3 separate regions of the Homo sapiens genome follow, and regions 1 and 2 are each linked to region 3. Evidence: promoter capture Hi-C in 16 types of primary human blood cells and fetal thymus (Javierre and others, 2016). All regions are on one chromosome and are shown on one strand. Each heading gives the region's core, a stretch centred on a gene start or on the middle of the fragment in contact. The rest is flanking DNA. Distances are from core to core; before and after follow the strand shown. Region 1 overlaps GATAD2A (GATA zinc finger domain containing 2A). Region 2 overlaps MAU2 (MAU2 sister chromatid cohesion factor). Region 3 holds the start of SLC25A42 (solute carrier family 25 member 42).

Region 1 (3,948 bases), core at 1,192-3,691, 400 kb before region 3:
CCGCACACACTGGGCTGGCAGGTGGTGGGGGCGTAGCCCAGCTCTTCCTCAACTAGGGGCCAAAAAGGACAGGTTCCAGCCACACTAGAGACCCCACACAGGTACAGCGCAGCTCTGACCGGGAGCACCTCCATGGGCTTTAGGGCAGATAGGAATGCTGCTTTATTTTCGTAAAATGCCACCATCCAACTGGCCTGAGAGCCTCAGGCAGAAAACATGTTCTAGAACAATTCCAAAAGGCTGACTGATGCTGTGGCAGGAACCAGAACTCTTAAAGAGGACTTGGGGGACAAACAGAAGGCACCCAGCACACTTCTGGCACACCAGGCCAGTACGCATCTCTTGATAATTAAAAGAGAAATTAAGTACATGACACAAATCATAAAACCAAACCCCTGAGATCACAATGCTAATACTAACTCTACCATAAAATGCCATCTGTGGCACCCATCACTAACATACCCATAGTAACACCCTTATTTCAGACAGGAAGAAAGTGAGGCTTCGCAGTAAGTGGGTTAAAGCACTGGCGGGAGCAGCAGGGCTGATGCTCTTAACGGTGGATTTTAGGCGTCTTTCTGCCTCCTCACCCGACAGCAGCTCACCGAGCCTCCACTGTGGGCTGGGGACTCAGTGGTGAACAAGACAGAGGGAACACCATCCACCCCCATGCTGGAAAACGAGCGAAATGACAGAGGGTGTTGGTGACGGTGCTGTGGGGACACGAGGCAGAGCACGGGGCAGTCAGAGCACACAGAGGGACGGGGGCTGGGTGGAACGGGCGGCACCGGAAGCCAGCCCTGAAGGAGACAGGGCCTGAGCGGAGACATGTGCTGGGGGAAGCACTGGCCCAGGCCGGAGGGGAGGAATCTGGCTTGCTCTAAAGGATCACCTGGCTGGAGGACTGCAGGGCAGGGGAGCGGTTCCTATGGTGCAGCTACACTGGGGAAGGGGACAGAGCAGAGGGGAGTTGGGGCACTCCGGAGGGGGTTGCTTTCTTTCACTTGTTTTTGCCTGAGCAACTGGACCAGTGGGGCTGGCTTTTCTGAGATGGGGAGGAGCAGATTTGAGGAAGGAAGGTTGGGCTACAGTTCGGATGTGCTGAGTGCGAGGCCCACGATGAGCCCCACGGAGATGCTGAGGAGCAGAGCCCTGAACCTGGGGGCAGCCACTGTCCTCAGGAGGCACAGGGCACCTCAGGGCACCTCTTCCTATCAGGAAGGAAGAAGGGCCCATGAAGCAACCAGTGCTGAGTCAGATGATGACAACGGGGTCCAGGTGCTAGCCTCGCTAGCTGTGAGCTGCGCCCAACACTCAAGACACAAGGACCCTGTAGGCACACAGCTGCAGCAAGCCTGCGCCCAGGTGCCCACCTCCAGAGCGCCCCTGTGGCCCTGCCCTTCACACAGATTGATGCACAGCACAGATGGGCCTCTGGACCCAGAACCCCTGTCTACTCTCCTCCCGGCAGCATAGCCCGAGGAAGCTCCCAAAGCCACATCCTGGATCTGTACCCCCTTCAGTGGCTCTCCCACTTCCTAAGAGTCAAACCAGGGTACCTTGTTGTGGCCCAGAAGGACCTGTTGAGGGGGTAAGGAGAGAATAGGTGGGCCAAGTTTTGGCATTGGCAGAGCCTGCCTGACAAGCATACTTCTTTCCCATGCAGAACAGACACCTCCATCTGCTCAGAACTGTGGCCCGAGCCACTTCCTGACGCACATCTCTGAGTAACAGTGACTAGGACTCATTCCGGAAGGAAGCCACACCGGAAACAGCAGCTCTGGACTTCTCAATGTCAAACTTCATTAAGGCCAAGTACGAGAGATACAACTTAACTTGAGAGACAGAAAGGTGTTCCAAGCAGTCAGCTCCTACAACTAGACACAGCAGGGAACAGAGACTTGGTCTCAGCTCCATCACACACACGCTGGCTGGCCATGGGCCAGGGGAGAGGTCTGTCAATCAACCACAGGACCAAGGACACAAGATGGACACAGAAGCTTCAGTGGGCCAAGAGAGGATGCCACTGCCCCTTCTTCCACAGTGTTTATCAAAGATGTCCATGCAGCTTAAATTATCTACCCTCTGTGCCACATGCTAGATAGAGACTCTCAAATTCTAAACAGTCAACCCAAACTTTTTTCTTTAAGAACAAGGTCTCACTATGTTGCCCAGGCTGGACTCAAAACACCTGGGCTCAAGTGATGCTTGAGCTGAGCCTCAGTTTTCCCATCCCTACTTCACAGACAATGCTATGTGAAGAAAAATGGAAAGAACTGTGGGAGAAAAGTTGCAGAATAGCATAGTACCATTTACATGGTTTAAAAAAAAAAAAAAGGTGTATATAGGGAAAAAACTGAAAGTAACTTCACTAAAATCAAAACTGAAAGGAACTGGACCAAAATCAGTGGTAGTAATCTCTGAAGAGTAGATTATTAAGAAACTTTCACTTACTATAGTAAACATTTCTGTATTGCTTGAATTCTTTAACAGTGACTATGAATCAGTCCTGTATTCAAAGAAAGCAAGGATTAAAAAAGAAAACCAGATAAAACAACAGCCCCACCTGCTAAGGATGAGAATCAAAAGCACAAGTGTGAAGCCAGGCACAGTGGCACATGCCTGTAGTCCCAGCTACTCAGGAGACCAAGGCAGGAGCATCACTTGAGCCCAGGTGTATGAGTCCAGGCTGGGCAACATAGTGAGGCCATGTTTCTTAAAGAAAAAAGGAAAGAAAGAAACTAACAAAGAAAGACAGTACCTCATCCAGGCGAGGAGGAAGGAGGCTCCCTAGGGTGAGAAGCTCTGGAGAGAGGGGGAAGCTGGCTCCTCCAATACTCCAACGCATAGGACTAAGGACACAAGATGGACACAGAAGCTTCAGTGGGCCGAGAGAGGATACCACTGCCCATTCTTCCAGTGTTTATCGAAGATGTCCACGCAGCTTAAATCATCTACCTTCTGTGCCATATGCTAGAGACTCTCAAATTCTAAACAGTCAACCCAAACCCCCCAGCTCATTCCCACAGCCCGCCTTCTATATAGGCCACAAGCCTCCCTGAGTGGCCACAACCACCAGGCCACAGCGTACCTCACCAGAGCCCTGGCAACAATCTCCGTGCCACTCAGGAGCTTCATCTCTCACTGCAACTCAATGTTAAGCTCTCAATGGCAGAAACTTTTTTTCACCATTCATCTTCATTTTCAGTGTAGAGCAAACAGTATGGGCTTGGTATGCACTGCTGAGTTACGCCTACGTTTCTGTAAATTAGACTCATGAAGCATGTGATTCCCAGGGTTGCCCTACAGGGCAAAGAGGAGCAAACAAGTAAAGTGCTTTCATTTAAAACTCCAAGACATGGGGACTGAGATGGCGTCTCCCAGACTGAGGCCAGGGCAGGAAAAGGAATTAGGCGAGACGTTCCAGGCAGGGGAACAGCATGCGCCAAGCAGCTGAGCAGGGAGGGTTTCAGGCCAAGGAAGGGAAAGCCGTGGTGAGTCCTGAACTACAGGCTTTCTCAAAAGGAGAACAGATGTCTACTACTCACTGGCTGACGCTGGGTTCTTAACCCTTGGTGGCCTGAAAAGTAAAGACACACCAGAGATACAGACATCTTCTCTCTCTCATGTTATCAGGATGGACCCCAGCCTAGTCAGCTGGCTAGGAGCTCCCTGAGCCTTCAAAGACCCCAAACTGAGAGATCGTCTCCCTGCAGTGGTCCTAGGATAAGACCAGCAGTGGGGAGGTGCAAGCTGGCTGGAGCCAACTACCTCTCACTGAGAGCCTGCATGAGTTGGAGACGGGCATGTGTCATCCCACAAGGTACAGGCACAACTGAAGTCTGGCTGGGTGAAAGTCCAGGCTAGGTCTGAACTCAGGCTACCATGCCTCTGTCTAGGTGGCCACTCTGATAAGCCTTCCACAGTGTGCAAGGGGCCTTTTGTTAA
Region 2 (4,550 bases), core at 1,396-3,895, 290 kb before region 3:
GTTCTGAGGTTCTGTTTTCAACTGCTCTACATACAAAATGCCCTACAAGCAAAGAAAGGCTTAAATAAATAGATGGGGATGAACATGATGCACGCCGTGGTGACATGAGTGGTGTGCAGGGGTCGGACAGTGCGGAACCCGGGTGGGCAGGAGCACATTGTGGAGACACAAGTGGTGGCATCTCTGGGATGTAGGGGAGGATGTGGGGGGCTCCTTCAAGGTGGAGCTAGCAGAGGCCATGGCTCGGGAGGAAGACAGGACAGGGACAGTTTGTGGGCCAGTGCCACACGCTCTCCTATTGGCTTCATGGGCCTGGGGGCAGCCCTGGGTAGCAAAGGACAGGGCCAGGCTCTCCCCCTGGAGACCCAGAGATGGCGGTGGTCCTCTTAGGACAAACCCTCACCAGCCCCGCCCTCTGACCAGCCTGTCACTGGTGCTGATGTCAGGTGGTGGCCAGTGAGGAAGGGGGTTATTGACAGCCCTGCCTGTGGCTAAGGCACACCCAGCCTGGGAGCCCCAAGCAGCTGACCTGAGCAATCCAGCGTCCCTTTAGTCACAGACGCCAAAGCTCCCAGAGGCAGTTCCACTGAGTGAGGGTGACAAGACCTAAAACCACCACCTACCCTGCTGAGCAGGACCCCCACCCCCTGTAGCAGGGAGAGGCTCCTGGGCCCCAGAAGCTGGAGGGGGTGGTGTCTTGAGCCCTGACACCTGCTGCTGCTATCTTGACCCGACCACCCGCCCCAACTCGGAATGCCACACTGTGACCACTGGGGCACCTCCTGATTATCCAAGAAAAGTGGATAAAACCAAACGCTGCTGTCTGGGCCCAGCGGAGGCTCCCTGGGGCCTGGCTAGGGTGCGGGTTTCACACTGTGCCCCAGAGACCCAGCAGGGAAGGTGAGGCGGTGGAGGGAGTGGGGGGACCAAGAGGCTGAGCAGGGAAGGCCACAGATCTGCCAGGAAGAAAGTCCCTGGGCTCCAGATCTCGGGGGCGGGGGGCCCGTGCCACGCACTCTAAGCTAGCTGAGGAGGTGATCTTAAATTTAGGAGACGAGCCCACTCCCCCGCTTCCTGCCCCTCAGCAGCCACAAGATGGGGGAAGGTGGCTGGTGCAACAGGAGCCTCAGCTCCCAGCTCCATCTCCACAGATCTTCACCGCACACCCGTGTGCATCCACATGCACACCCGTGTTTACAATCACCTGCACCCCCACGGCGGGATGGCGAGTCCGGTCAAGGTGCAGATGTTTGGAAGCTGAGTTCCTGGGTCCCTGAGGGTTCCTGACCAGAGGCCCCAGCTGCTGCAGGGACTGATGCTGGAGAGAAAGCTGGGAAAAGTGCTGGGATCTGTGCTTCGTCCCACACTAGCGCCATTACTTCTTCCCTCCAAATTCAGGCCAGAAACTGGCATCCGGGCTCTGGAAATTGCCTTGAGCAGAGGAAACACTCTACTCCCGCTCGGCATCAAGGCCTGGGTGATGGAGAGTCAGGCGTGGTGCCCCTGGGGCACTGCCTGCCCTGGCACACAGGATTAGGACCTGCTGGAGGCCTGCACCCTACTCCTGGCCGACGTGACCCAGATGCTGAGGCAGGACTGGCACTGAGGTCCACTCTGAAGGATGGCTCTGGAGAGACAGCGCCTGTGTGCCACCTGTGAGCCTCTGCACTGGGGGTCCTGCTGCGAGGTGGGAACGGCTACCACCCCTCCTGGGAGGGCAGGGACTGGCCCCGCACATTCCCAGGACTTGGAAGCTCTAGAGACAATCAGGAAGGAAGCACGCCTCGGGGGCAGGCTTGAGTGCCGTCTGGGTGGAAGCCGGAGACGCGCAGGCCCTGCGGAGCTGGATGGCCCCATCAAGGCCTCACAGGAGGCTGGCCAGGCTGGTGTTGGGTCCATTCTGAGCTTGGAACTGCACGGGGGGTGGACCGTCTGTCCACTGTGGGGAGGAGAGGACATGCGAGTGAGGCACTGTGGACCGTTCCCAGGGAAGAAGAGGTTGGAATGCTGCCTTCCTTGGGCTGCTCACACAGCCGGGACTCTGTTCTCCATGCCCCAGTCCAATGGGCCCCGAGGAGACACCTGGGTCCCTTGCTTGGGTGGGGGTGCCCATGGCCATCTCCCCCATCAAGGGATCACCTGAGGCTGAGTTAGGGTTTGTTGGACAAAAGAGAAATACAGCCAAGGTGCCCCTTCCTCTTGCAGGTGGGGAGCCCGCTAGTCCTGATCCCGTCCCCTAACACCCACACCCGTACCGTGATGAGGTTGTGTTCGGGGAGGCTGCAGGCCTCAATGTGGTCCTGGAGCAGCTGCTGCGAGAAGTTCTGGTGCATCTGGGCGGCTTCATGGGCATCCATGGCGTTCCCACAGGCTTTATTCAGGTCTGAGAGTGGGACATGAGCATGGGGGCCCGCCTTGCCCTGTCACTGCCCAGGCCCTCCCACTCGGTGCAGATGGAGCCCTAAGGTCAAGTCCCAGCTGCACTGGTGGATCTCTGGGTGCCTGGCACGTCACTGGACCTGAGCCCTGTCTTGGGATCACAAAGCCCATGCGCCAGCCGCCCTCATAGGGCAGAACAGGGCTGGCTGGGCAGTGAAAGCCCAATGCCAGGCTTCTCGCCAGCCCTCCAGGGAGCCCATGGCCAGCCCTCAGGCAAACAGGCGCTCATTGGGGCAGGACGCCCAATGCCCATCCTGAGGCAGCAGCCCCAGGCAGCCCACTGCACATGGAGCACCCCGTCTCCTGTCACCTCCCCAGGGCCCCAGGCGAGTCTCCGGACCTTAGTTTCGTAATCTGGAAATGGGGGAGCTGCGGTAACAGCAATGATACCCGCTGAGTGCCCGCCCTGCTCCCAGAGCTAGCTGGCCAGCCCTACCCAATAGGTATGGCTGCTGTCTGCCTTTCCGGGAAGAAGCAAGGCTGAGAGCGCCACGGCTAACAGCCCAAGTCTACCAGATACCAAGTCGCAGCCTCTGTGTCCTATAGAGACTGAACCAGACCCCGAGTCAAGCGGATGCCACAAATGCACCCACTGCCCTCAACCAGGGTCTCCTGAGGAGCACCCCCTACCCATGCTAGAACTGGGGCTGCGGCCCACGGAGGCCTAGTCCGAGCTAAGGCTGAGCAGGACATGCCCAGCAGCCTTGATCTCTGGGGAGGGCCAGGCTGGGGCTGGGGAAGAGGGGTGGCCATTGCACTCACCTCTCAGCAGTGCTGACGACCACAGCTGTACCGACATGTCCGGGATCTTGCTGGCGAGCTGCATGGCAGGCACCACCATGTTGTTACTCTCCTGTCAACCAAGAGCAGCAAGGGGGAGTGAGGAGCCTGGACCCCACTTGCCGAACCCAGCCCAGGTTGGGGTGGGGATAATCTGGAACCCACCTACTGAACCCAGCCCAGGTTGTGACCTCCTTCTGCGTCTGGTGAACTCCTATGCTTACCTCAGAGCCCATCTCAAATGGCCCTCTCTGAAGTATCACTGAAAAACAAACTGCCCTCACTTCTGGCTCATGCCCTCACAGGGGCATGGCCAATGGACAACTTTGGGGGCTTCTACCTGTTCAAGCAGAGAAAAAGCACTGATGGCCGTTAGCCCTAGACCCACAATGGGGGCTGATCAGAAATGCAGATTCATATAGGGTTCCAGGTTTCAGGTTCTGAGAAGGGCAGCAGCCCCTCCGGTTTGTCTTCCACAATTGAGTTGGCTCTCATGGGAGGCCCCCGCAGACACGCAGGGGCTCTGGGGGCACCAGCATGTAAGAATCCTCCAATCCGGACTCCCTGCTTTGTGACTGCACAGGGCCACCCCAGTTGCAGCCCTAGCATCCTCAGGATGTGGCAGGAAGAGCTCAGTAAGAGCCATCAGGGCCCATAAATGCCCATCCCTGTTGCTATGGCAAGGGCCTGGAGACGGCAGACAGGAGCCTGTGCTACACAGGCGACCAGCAGTGCTGGACTGACCCTGTCTGGACCGAGGACTCAAAGCCCTGTAAGCCTGGATGTGGGGTTCAGGTAAGACCTGGAAAATTCCCTAGATGATGGCTCCTGGCAGCCCAGGGAGCACTTGGGAAGCCAAGATGGACACATCCCCAAAACCAACTCCTGAGACCTGGCTTTGACGCCACCAGATACTTCTCCAGAGTGCAGAGATGCTCCTCCTGAGACACAAAGCCCAACAACTCTACACTGCCCTGTAGCTGCACCTTGAAAGTGAGCTCCAGGTGGGTCTTGGAGCTTTTTAAAATTCACCAAGCCCTTTTGAAACCTCAGAGCAAGAAAAACTGCTCTCTTCCGCTAGGCCTGGCTTATTGTGAGCCTGGCTGGGCTCCCTGTAGAAAGCCAAGGACCTCTGTCTGAAAGCAGCCTGGGGAAGGAGAGTCCTCCTTCAGCGCTCCTGGGTAGGTTCCCCCAATGCCAGCTTGGGGTACCCCACAGAATCTGGTTTTGAAGACTTGAGTGATCCTGGGGGGTGTCCCGCTCTTGTGGACACTCTAGCCTAACAGGCTCAGGACAGGGCATCCCAAGCTCTTCTGGGCCCCTGGACCCTC
Region 3 (4,484 bases), core at 1,407-3,906:
GAAACCCCGTCTCTACTAAAAAAATATGAAAAAATTAGCCGGGTGTAGTGGTGGGTGCCTGTAGTCCCAGCTACTCAGGAGGCTGAGGCAGGAGAATGGCTTGAACTTGGGAGGCGGAGCTTGCAGTGAGCCGAGATCGCGCCACTGCACTCCAGCCTGGGCGACAGAGCAAGAATCCAACTCAAAAAAAAAAAAAGAAAGAAAAAAAAAATATGGGCTGCAGCTTAAACAGCCATCAGTAAGGGACTGGCCTTAGAATGCATATGTCTGCTCAATGCAAATTTACCAGTGGTTTAAAAGGGGTGGGGGATATATACCTCCCCCGACCCCTTTCTGCCACCCCAGTCATAGACTACCTCTGGAAGAAAACATAAGAAATTATCAACAGCAGGTGCATCTGAGGAGGAACGGGGTACAGGCTGGGGAAGACCTGACTGATTTCTACTATGTGACCTTTTGTACTGTTTGATTTTTTCTTTTTAACTATATAATAGGCCGGGTGTGGTGGCTCACGCCTGTAATCCCAGCATCTTGGGAGGCTGAGGCGAGCAGATCACTTGGGGTCAGGAGTGCGAGACCAGCCTAGCCAACATGGTGAAACCCCGTTTCTATTAAAAATACAAAAATTAGCTGGGTGTGGTGGCACATGCCTGTAATCCCAGCTACTCAGGAGGCTGAGGTAGGAGAACTGCATGAACCCAGGAGGCAGAGGTTGCCGTGAGCCGAGATCACACCACTGCACTCCAGCCTGGGCAACAGAGCAAGACTCCGTCTCAAAAAAAACCCAAAAACTATATACTCAATGATCTTGCCAAAGTTTATACACATGTACATATATAACACACACGAAATATGTATATATAAAATATGTATATAAACATATGAATATTATAGGTACATGTACATATGTGTACAACACACACACATATACATACATATATACATACATGCCCATATATGTTTTAAATGACTCCTATTGAAGTTGGACAGAAAACCCAAATGGCTTCAGTTTCCACAGGAGAAGCTGAAGGTGACATGACCCTCTGAAACATTCTGGTACCGTCTTTGCAGGGAGCGGTGGGAGGGGGTAAGAAACGCTCCAGGAGCCTTACAGGAAATGGCACGTTATTGCTTTTCAACAACAAAGCCACTGTCCTCCTTCTATGCTGCATGCTTGCAAATCAGACTCAAGGGAACTAAAAAATTCCAGAAGAATCATTCCTAGCACCACCCAGGCTCGTTTTGCAGGTTAGCTTTAAACAGCTGAAACATTAGTTTGCCTCACTCTAAAGAGTGTTTCCTTACTCTTTATCGGCTTCAAGGGCCCAGGGAGTGTCGGAGAGGGGTCCCGGGTCTGCAAGAGCTGGGAGCCCCGGCCCCGGCAACCCCCTCTCCGGCATCCTGCAGGAGGCACCCAAGATGATGAGCCCCCCTCCTCCGGCAGCGTCTCCACCGCCAGCCTGCCCCAGGACTCCGAGACACACGCTTGGCAGAGGGGCCGTCCCTTCCAGCTAAGCCTTTCCGGACCCAGTCAAAGTCACGACTCCTGCCAATCCCTCTGAGATAAACATAACAGATGGGCCCAAACGCGGTGGGTCCACAGCAGAGGGTCAGCGATGCCCAGGGTAGAATAGGCTCTGCCTCTAGCATTCAAGTGGTTTAGGTCTGTGGCTGGTAAAATGGAGATGATTCCGGTTTGGTCTGACAGATGGGATTATTCTAAGGTCCGGAAATCACTTTATAGACTGTCAAGCACTGTTAGAAATGAACACTGGGGTAAGCTTTTGTTTGGGGAGGGGAGGGTGCAGCGATCCTGAGATACCAAGGCTTGGGGGACTATTGGAGGACCTGGGGGATTCGGGGGGATTATTACAGAGGGTGTGCGAACACAGGTGCACGTGGAAGAAAGCCCAAGGTGGGAGAGAGAAAAGGGGGAGACAGAGGTGTGGGGCTGCCAGGGCAGAGGGCAGGTGCCAGGGGGAAGGTCCCTGAGAAGAGAGACACAGGTTGCTGGGGGAGTGGGCACGAGAGTAGCGAGCAGATACCTGGATATGAGGAAAGGCAGTGGGGGACGGGACTAGGTCCAGGTGTGAGTTGCGAGGCCATGAGTTAGGAGTCACAGGCTCAGGTGTGGGTGTGGGGGTGTCATCGACAAGGACAGACTCAGGTGATGTGGGGGGTGTTCGTGAGTGGGGGCGGGTGTTCGTGAGTGGGGGCGCGGTGTCAGGTGTGTGAGGGGGATGTCAGACCCAGCTGTGCGGGGCGCCGGGGACAAGGCCCCAGGGGTGTGGGAGATGTCAGCAAGGACAGTCTAAAGTGTATGGGGGATGTCAACGAAAAGGGACGTGGTGTCAGGCGTGCGTGGACTGCGGGTGACGGGCTCAAACCTGGATGCAGTAGCCCCCAGGGGGCAGTAGACGTGGAGTGTGGGGTTGGGGGGGGTCTTTAACCTCTTCCTGCCCTCGCGACGCTACTGTCATGCCCCGCCTCATCCGCCCCTCGCCCCGGGATCCATGACAGGACCCGTGCCTCACCTCAGTTCAGCCCGACAGGCGCGGGCCGCTGACGCTTGGGCCCCCCCGGCGCCCCCCGCGCCCCCTCACCGGCCCGGACGCGTCGCCGCCGCCGCTACCTCCAGCCGCCACGGCCCCGCCTCGCGCACCCCCAGAGCGCGCCACGGGAGGGGTCCACGCCACGCCCCGATTGGCTGCTCCCTGGCCAGTCAGCGCTGGAAGCGACAGTGATTGGCGAGTATGAAGCAGATGGGCAGCCCCTAAAGCCAATCGCTGATTGGCAGAGGTGGGGCTATTGGGAGAGGCCTGGGGTGCCTGAGTGGTCCCTCAGGGTGCTAGGCGCTGGGAGGCGAGGGCCTGGAGGCAGGCGAGGATTGGAATCTTGGCAGAAAACAGGCAGAACTGTCGGCCAATCGCTGGGGGCCAGGGGCGGGGCTACGAAGAAACTGGCGCTACCGGTGGGGCAGAGGCGAGAGGAACGGAGGGCGTAGCTTGGGGGGAGACCGGGATTGGCCGCAAAGCCGAAGACTGGCAGGCCCCGCGGCCAGTCGCAGCGGCCGTGGGCGGTACGCCCCCAGGGGAGGGCTGGAGCGTTCAAGGTGCAGTCCGACCCGGAGCGCGGCAACCCGACGTGGCCTCGGACGCCTGGCGCAGGGTCCCCTGAGGCTCTCGTGTAGAGCCCGCCCTCTGGCCACCTAGCACAGAAGCGGATGTGAACTTGGACCATCAAGGCTGAAGGACTCCTGGATAATTCTCTATCCCCTTACTCCCCACTAATCCCCTGCAGACGACACGGAGAGGGCAGATTCGCTGGAGGTCACTCTGAACTGCCCTCTCCATCTCGAGGTGGTGTGAAGACATGGAAATAAGGGGCGGAATCCTACTGAAACGCGCTGCGTGGTTTTCTGAGTGTCTGACCTCTCTGCGTCCCAGCTTTCCCCGCCACGGTATCCAGTGACATCCCTGTTGGGCCTTCTCCCTGCCAAGTCTTTTTTTGAATTAACTGAATCTTAACCACAATCCCATGAGGTCAGAGAGACCACTGGCTCCTTTTACAGAAACCAGAGCACAGAGAGGTCAAGCTCCTTGCCCAAGGTTACACAGCATTCTCTGGTTGCTAAACCAGAGAATGAATCTAGAGCAGCCTGCTTTTTGGAAAGAGTGTGTCAGAGAAGAGCCACTGGGGGCCTCAGAGACCTGGGTTTGAATCCTTGTCCAATCACTGGCCCACCACACAACCTTGGGCAAAAGCCCTTGTGAGCCTCAGCTGTTTCATTTGGAAAAGAGGGGGGAAAATGATTCCTATGCCTTGATCTTTCCTCTCTGGGGTTGCTTCCCTGGGAAAATTTACAACTCAGCTCTCATTTTAATTATCTGGTGAAAGCATTTGACCCTGAGCAGGTCATGTGCGGCCTGTGAGCCTCAGCTCCTCTGTGAAGTGCAGAAAAATGCCGGCAGTTTAGGGAGACACCTGCCATCCCAGGCATGGCTGTGTCATCGGCACCTCCCCCGAAGCCACTCTGTTCTATGACTCACCCTTCATCTTCAGGATGGAGAGGGCTACAAATGTTTCCAGATACCAGCTCTTATTTCCTCTAGGTGCTGGCCAGGGTTGGTGGAGATCAAGTTCAGAACCAGGGAATCCTGGGAGGGAGCAAGGCTGAAACCAACCTTAGAAAGGGCTCACATTTCAGGGCTGCACAAGCCCCTGCTAAGTGTGTGATCCACAAGTTTCAAATGGGGAGGATGTGACGGGAAATCACTAGCCCAAGGCCATCATCAAACTCCTGATATTCTCACGATATGCCTACCTGGACCTCCTCTCCCATACCTCCCACCTGTGGTTTGCTTCCTGGCAACTTCCAGGATCTGGCCTCCATTCTGCCCTCCAGAGAAGAGGGGGAAGCTGAGGTCAGTTGAACATCAATTGGGTGCCAGGTCCCCACTGGGCTTTCTCCAATACCATCTCCC

Evidence for each region. The method cuts DNA at HindIII sites, captures the fragments that hold promoters and counts their contacts. A CHiCAGO score of 5 or more calls a contact.
Region 1: a contact is called between a fragment that was not itself captured here and the fragment with the promoter of SLC25A42 in region 3, in 1 of 17 cell types (fetal thymus). The highest score is 6.3, in fetal thymus.
Region 2: a contact is called between a fragment that was not itself captured here and the fragment with the promoter of SLC25A42 in region 3, in 1 of 17 cell types (erythroblasts). The highest score is 6.9, in erythroblasts.

What each region holds. Positions count from the first base shown.
Region 1 is chr19:19,457,758-19,461,705 of GRCh38, reverse strand. All of the region lies in intron 1 of GATAD2A (GATA zinc finger domain containing 2A), which reads right to left. Among named protein-coding and RNA genes, the nearest start is that of MIR640, 25 kb to the right of the region's middle. RefSeq lists enhancers at 556-695, 1,026-1,145, 1,456-1,675, 1,572-1,866. The HindIII fragment of the contact is 878 bases long and covers 2,003-2,880 here.
Region 2 is chr19:19,353,097-19,357,646 of GRCh38, reverse strand. MAU2 (MAU2 sister chromatid cohesion factor) reads right to left here. Exons shown (of 19, transcript NM_015329.4): 17 at 3,202-3,292; 18 at 2,256-2,383; 19 at 1-1,939. The coding sequence ends at 1,865. Among named protein-coding and RNA genes, the nearest start is that of MAU2, 35 kb to the right of the region's middle. The HindIII fragment of the contact is 5,642 bases long and covers 1-4,550 here.
Region 3 is chr19:19,062,166-19,066,649 of GRCh38, reverse strand. It overlaps SLC25A42 (solute carrier family 25 member 42), which reads right to left and starts at 2,656. Exons shown (of 8, transcript NM_178526.5): 1 at 2,535-2,656. It overlaps LOC124904655 (a long non-coding RNA gene), which reads left to right and starts at 3,125. Exons shown (of 3, transcript XR_007067160.1): 1 at 3,125-3,460. RefSeq lists silencers at 2,485-2,754, 3,015-3,184. The HindIII fragment of the contact is 7,903 bases long and covers 1,784-4,484 here.